Linked DNA regions of Homo sapiens: region 2 is linked to region 1. The links are contacts of gene promoters, found by promoter capture Hi-C in blood cells and fetal thymus (Javierre and others, 2016). All regions are on one chromosome and are shown on one strand. The core of a region is centred on a gene start or on the middle of the fragment in contact, and the rest is flanking DNA. Distances in the headings are between cores, read along the strand shown.

The links. The method cuts DNA at HindIII sites, captures the fragments that hold promoters and counts their contacts. A CHiCAGO score of 5 or more calls a contact.
Region 2: a fragment that was not itself captured here is called in contact with the fragment with the promoter of NFRKB in region 1 in 3 of 17 cell types (non-activated CD4 T cells, naive CD4 T cells and total CD4 T cells); the score reaches 7.3 in non-activated CD4 T cells.

What each region holds. Positions count from the first base shown.
Region 1 is chr11:129,894,328-129,897,789 of GRCh38, reverse strand. NFRKB (nuclear factor related to kappaB binding protein) reads left to right here and starts at 2,212. Exons shown (of 27, transcript NM_001143835.2): 1 at 2,212-2,294; 2 at 3,352-3,431. RefSeq lists a silencer at 2,056-2,495. The HindIII fragment of the contact is 7,376 bases long and covers 1-3,462 here.
Region 2 is chr11:129,775,929-129,779,390 of GRCh38, reverse strand. All of the region lies in intron 1 of LOC124902793 (a long non-coding RNA gene), which reads left to right. Among named protein-coding and RNA genes, the nearest start is that of TMEM45B, 38 kb to the left of the region's middle. The HindIII fragment of the contact is 1,016 bases long and covers 1,039-2,054 here.

The sequences.
Region 1 (3,462 bases), core at 963-3,462:
TAAAGAAAGAACATCATTATTACCTTTAATAATGAAGGTAAAGGAAAAGTCTTACTTATTCTTTGTTGTTTTATTTTTCTTTTTACTTTTTTGAGACAGGGTTTCACTCTGTTGCCCAGGCTGGAGTGCAGTGGTGCAATCACAGCTCACGGCAGCTTCGATCTCCCTGGCTCAAGCGATTCTCCCACCTCAGTCTCCTGAGTAGCTGGGACTACAGGCACGTGCCACCACACCTGGCTAATTTTTTGTATTTATTTTAGTAGAGATGGGGTTTCACCATATTGCCCAGGCTGGTCTCCAATTCCTGGGCTCAAGTGATCCACCCATCTCAGCCTCTCAAAGGGGAAGATCCTGGGCATTGGGACTGAGGTGTTTTTGATACGTTCATGCAAAGATGCCTGGAGTGGGTGGTTGGATTTCTGGGTTGTTTGATTCATAATTGCTTGATTCATAATTGCCAAAACCTGGAAACAATGAAGATATCTTTCAGTAAGCGAATAGATAAAACTGTGATATATCGACACAATGGAATATTATTCAGCACTAAAAAGAAATAGGAGCTATCAAGCCATGAAAAGACATGGAGGAAACTTCAATGCCTGTTACTACGGGAAGGAAGCCAATCTGAAACGGCTACATACTATGTAATTCCAACTAGATGACACTCTGGAAAAAGGCAAAACTATGGAGACAAAAAGATCAGCGGTTGCCAGGGGTAGAGGAGAGGGAGAGATGAATATGCAGAGCACAGATGATTTTTAAGACAGTGAAATTACTCTGCATTATACTGTGATGGTGGGTAATGATGTATCAATGTAGGTTCATCAGTTCTTTTGTTTGAGATGGAGTCTCGCTCTGTCTCGCTCTGTCGACAGGCTGGAGTGCAATGGCTCAATCTCGGCTCACTGCAACCTCCGCCTCCCCGGTTCAAGCAATTCTCCTGCCTCAGCTCCCGAGTAGCTGGGACTACAGGTGCCCGCCACCACGACCGGCGAATTTTTGTATTTTTAGTAGAGACGCGGTTTCACCATGTTGGCCAGGATGGTCTCGATCTCCTGATCTCGGGATCCGCCCGCCTCGGCCTCCCAAAGTGTTGGGATTACAGGCGTGAGCCACCAGGCCGGGCCGGGTTCATCAGTTCTAAGAAATGTACCACTCTGGTAGAGGATGTTGATAAAGGGAAGGCGATGCATGTGGGGAGGTGGGGCGGGGAGTATTTGGAAAATATCTTTCTGCTCAATTTTGTTAACTTTAAACCACTTTAAAAAAACAAAGTCTATCAAAAATTATAGTTTACATTGTTTTTACTCTTTTTCTCTTTCTGGTCTTGTCACAATCTCAAGGTAAGGGAAATATCGGTGACAACTATAGAGTGATATTCCACTGCCATTTATACTCGATAGTTTCTAATTCAAGAGCCTCTCAACAGTGTAACAGGAACTTAGAGCATATGTGGAGCCAGTAGAGGAACAGAGATCGGGTTGTTTGGAAACTACTCTCTTCCAGGAAGGGAAGAACATTAGCTCGGCCGGCCGGCTTCTCTGGTCCCATCCACACACAGAACTGAGGATGGTCTCTGCGCCACTGCTGGGAGTACCTGGAATAAGTAGTGTGAAGCCGTACTAAGCAAAACCCAGTGAATAACAGGAAAGGGGCCTTCATATCTAAGAAGAGGAAAATGATGGAGTTTAACTTTAAAATGTGATCCTTCGATGTGTTTACATTCTTTCTGGACATCGAGGGCCCGGGGACGGGAAGGAGGAATGAAGGAACTCGGAAGCACAGGCTGAGGTCGCGTTCTACTCATGTCCTCAACTGTAAAATGGGCACTAATAGTGCATAGCTCACAGGGCTGCAGCACAAAGACGGTGGGTAGAAAGTGCTTAGCATAGGGCCTGGGGCAGGGTATGCTCTCTGCAAACGTCAGCTAATAGACGTGCCTTCGCTCACGGGCTATGGAACTTTGATTCGCGGTCAGGCAAAGACAGGCACTGTCTGGGGCCTCTGGAAGCTCCTAAATCAGGTGAGACGCGCAAGCAGGCTGGAACCTGCATCCCCAGGCCCAGCCGCGCGCAGGCACCCTCGCCGACCCTCCGCTCTCCCGAGCCGCTCCAGGACCCGCCCGCTGTGGCCCCGCCCCGGCACCCTCCAGGCCCCGCCCCGCGCTGCCCCGCCCCTTCCGCCGCGCAGGCCCAGAGCGTGCGCGCACCCAGACTCCTTGCGGGAGCGAGTGCGTCTGGGAGCCCGCGGCCGGAGAAGGGCTGCGGGTTAGGGGGCCGGCGCCCGCGGTTCAGGTGAGGGCGGGCAAGGGGCGGCGAAAGGGTTGAAGTGTCTCCTGGGAGTGGAGGGAGCGGGAGCGGGCGGCTGGGTCCGCGAGGTCGCTGCCCGTGTGGGCGTGGGGAGCGGGAGCGGGGCGTGGGGAGCGGTGCGACGCGTGAGGCTGGGGGTTAGGGTTAGGCACGGCGTGGGGGAGGGGCGGGGCCGAGCCGTGCAGTTCTGAGGATTGGACCCGGGCCTTGGGCCAGCCGGGCTGGCACCGGAGGGGAATTTGCTGCAGAGTTGAGGGCTTTGGAGCCGGCGGTTGCTCTGGAAGGACCCGAGGGTTTAGCTTCTGCGTTGGGGAGGGTCCAGCGGGGAAAGTTAGACCAGGTGCTGAAAGCCAGTGATGAGAGGCCGAGAGGCCTTCGTGGTCTAGTGAAGAGGTTCAGAACGCCCGAAGATCTGGAAATCCTTGGCTTCCGGGGTCCAACTCCCTGGCAGCTGCCTGGTTTTGGTATTTTGAGATTCTGTTCAGAATAGTGGCAGTGCAAAGGTTGTCAGTGGACTAGATTAACTTTAGCTAGACACGCACCGTCACTGAAGAAACTTGTGAGCAAGTTGTATAGAGACCTCCTAAGAGGCAGGTAGGACACTGACTTTGCAGTTGATAGTCTGTTCTATGCCAGTTCTGTTAAGAAGGTTTTATTCTGAGCATCAGGTTGCTTCTGCAATTTTTTTTTGGTGCTATTTTGAAGTTTTGTTAAACTCACATGCTATGTGCTGTCTCACCCGCTTCACTTATTTAGGCATAGGCATGATGAGGATGTCATTTCACCATGTGCTGAAGGGTGATGAGGGGGCACAGTTGCTTGGGGACCACCCACGTGACTTGACTCAACGCTTAAGTTTCTGCTATATCTTTACATGGATCTGAAATCTCTTCAAGGGAGCTTGAAATAATTTAGTGGAACATGCTTCATTTTACATATAGTTATTCTAGAACTGTTCTTTATCATTGGAGAATTTTGGAAAAGAAAAGTACCTGTATTACGTAATTCACACTGTCACTCATCTAGAGATTATTCATTGCAGGATTCCAGAATTGGAAATAACGGGAGGGAGGACCTGGTCCAGCTTCCCTTCCTCAAATAAGGAAATTGACACCTGGCGTGGTAAGATTTGTGGAATGTGGTGTTTGTGGAA
Region 2 (3,462 bases), core at 297-2,796, 120 kb after region 1:
GTTACGGAGATGAGAGCAGTTTCTTATAAAAGCTTTTGAATTCAACTGTAACCTGGCCACCATCCGGGACCCCTCTCCTCTGTGGAGAGCTTTCTTCTTTTGCTTATTAAATTTTTGCTCCAACCTCACCCTTTGTGTCCATGCTCTTTAATTTTCTTGGTTGTGAGACCACGAGCTCAGATAATACCTTAGACAAAGAGAACAGTGACCCTGACCTGTTTCAGGAGGGTGGATGTGCACCCCATTACCCTGGCTCCCACCAGTAGCAGCCCATGAACTGTGTCCCATGCTTCCCAGGCAAGATCGTGTCAGCCAGCAGGCCGACTGCATGCCAAGCACCTGAGACCTGCTCTGCTGCCGAGGCCTGACTTCTGGGACCACTTTCCAGAATTTGCTCATCACCTATTCCTGAGGATGCTACTCTCAAGCCCCACAGGGCCCACATGGCTGCGACTTTTCTGAGAATTGGCCCTGCTAGTGGATATAACTGCCACTAATGCCACTGTCCCTTCACTTGTACCCCGGATGTAACTGTATTCAGCTCAGGTGCCTTCATCAGCAGGAGCACTGTAAGCGTAATTTATTAAAAGTGAAACAATTGTACAAGCAGTTAATCAACCACCACAGGGCATAATTAATGAAGCAGCCTTCCCCTCCCCACCCCCATTGATTTTGTGAAACTCCCTTTTTCTTTCAGCTTGATCAAGTATTCCAAATTTAGAAAGCTCTAAGGTGGCCTACAGAAAAAGAAAAAGGCCACATAAGGTCCCTCTCACTTTCAGTAAATAGCAGCATATAAATACAAGAAAAAATAGATATTGTCTTGTGCAGCATTAAAAAATCAAAATAAAATAAATATGAGCAAAAATGGGTTTCTTGTATGTAGTCTATAATTGTTTAGTACATTTATAACTAATATCAAGATTACCAATATGCTTTGGTTACAATGCGTCGTCTTGATATTTGTTTTCTATTCATTGCATTTGTTCCTTGGTCCTTTTTGTTTTCATCTCCTTTCCATTTTCTCTCAGGTAAGCTTCTGACCCCACCCACCTGTTTTTAATGTTTTCAGCCCCCATGCGAATAACTGTTACTACTGGAACATACTAGGTTGGGTTCTGTTCTCTTCTAAACAAAATTTAGCAAAAGGCACAGTGATTTCCCATATTCACCTGCACCCACACATGCATGGCCTCCCCACGACCAGCAACCCCTACCAAAATGGCCTATTTGTTGCAACTGATGAACCTTTATTGACATAGTTGACATTAGGGTTCACCGTTGGTGCTGTACATTCTATGGGGTTGAACACATGTATAATGACATGCATCCACTATTTCAGTGTCATACAGAGTAGTTTCACTGCCCTAAAAATCCTGTGTCCCACCTTCACCCTTCCTTCCACTCCAATCATTGGCAACCATTGATCTTTTTCCTGTCTTAATAGTTTTGCCTTTACGGAATGTCATGTAGTTGGAATCATACAGTATGTAGCCTTTTCAGACTGATTTCTTTCACTTAGTAATTTGCATTTAAGTTTCTTTCGTGTCGCTTCATGGCTTGATAATTTCATTTTAGTGCTGAATGATACCCTTTTGTCTGGATGTATCTGGTTTATTTATGCATTTAACTGTTAGAGGTCATCTTGGTTTCTTCTAATATTTCCCAGTTAGGAATAAAGTTAGGTTCTATAAGTATCCATGTGTAGGTAATTGTGTGGACATAAGTTTTCAAGTCCTTTGGGTAAATACCAAGGAGTGTGCTGGTTGGATTGTATGGTAAGGGTATGTTTAGTTTTGTAAGAAGCCTCCAAAGTATCTTCCAAAGTAGCTGTACCATTTTGCATTTCCACCAGCAATGAGAGTTCTTGTTGCTACAGATCCTCACCAGTGTTTGGTGGTGTCAGTATTCTGAATTTTGGGCATTTTAATTGGTGTTAGTAGTATCTCATCATCATTTTAATTTGTATTTCCATGGTAACACAGGATGTAGAATATCTTTTCATATGTTTGTTTGCTATTTGTTTATCTTCTTTGGTGAGGTTCTGTTAAGCTTGCTGGCCCATTTAAAAAATTGGGTTTCTCGTTATCTTATTTTTGAGTTTTAAAGAATTCTTTGTATATTGGGGATAACAGTCCTTTATCAATTATGTCTTTTGCAAATATTTTCTCCCAAAGGCTTGTCTTTTCATTCTCTTGACAGTGTCCTTTGCTGAGCAGAAGTTGTTACTTTTAATGAAGTCCAACTTATCAGTTCTTTCTTTCATAGATCATGACTTTGGTGTCACAACTAAAAAGTTATTGCTAAACCCAAGCTCACCTAGATTTTGTCCTATTACCTTCTAGGAGCGTTATAGGTCTGTGTTTTATATTTAGGTCTGCGATTCATTTTGAGTTAATTTTTGTGAAGGGTGTAAGGTCTGTGTCTGGATTCTTTTTTTTTTTAAATGTGGATGTCTATTATAACAAACATTCTATTTTTCTTCAACGTATTGCCTTTGTTCTTTGACAAAGATCAGTTGACTATATTTATGTGCGTCAATTTCTGGACTCTATTGTGTTCCATTGATCTATTGATTTATTCTTTTGCAAATACCACATTGTCTTAATTATCGTAGATTTAGAGTAAGTCTTCGAGTCAGGTGTGTCAGTCCTCCAACTTTGTTCTTCTCTTTCAATATTGAATTGGCTATTAAGTGTGCTTTGGCTCTGCATATAAAATTTAGAATACTCTGTTGATATCTGTGAAATAAACTTGCTGGGATTTTGACAGGGATTGCATTGGAATCTATAGATCAAGTTGGGAAGAACAGACATCCTAAAAATATTGAGTCCTTGTATTCATGAACATCAATTGTCTATCCGTTTATTTAGTTTTTCTTTGATTTCTTTCATCAGGGTTTTATAGTTTGCCTTACATAGATCTTGTGCATATTTTGTTAAATTTATAACTAAGTATTTCATTTTACAGGGTGCTAATTTAAATGGTATTATGTGTTTTAGAATACGTGCTGCCAAAGTGAGCACATAAATGGTATTATGTTTTTCAGTTTTCACTTGTTCATTGTTGATATAAAGAAAAGTGATTGGCTGGGCGCGGTGGCTCATGCCTGTAATCCGAGCACTTTGGGAGGCCGAGGCAGGCAGATCACAAGGTCAGGAATTCGAGACCAGCCTGGCCAATATGGTGAAACCCAGTCTCTACTAAAAATACAAAAATTAGCCGGGTGTGGTGGTGCACCTGTAGTCCCAGCTACTCGGGAGGCTGAGGCAGAAGAATCACTTGAACCCGGGAGGCGGAGGTTGCAGTGAGCTGAGATCGCACCACTGCACTCCAGCCTGGGTGACAGAGTGAGACTCCATCTTAAAAGAAAAGAAAAAGAAAAGTGACTGACTTTTGTATATTAAACTTGCATCCTGCACCCTTGCTATAATCACTTATTCCAGAAGTTTTTTTTTCTTG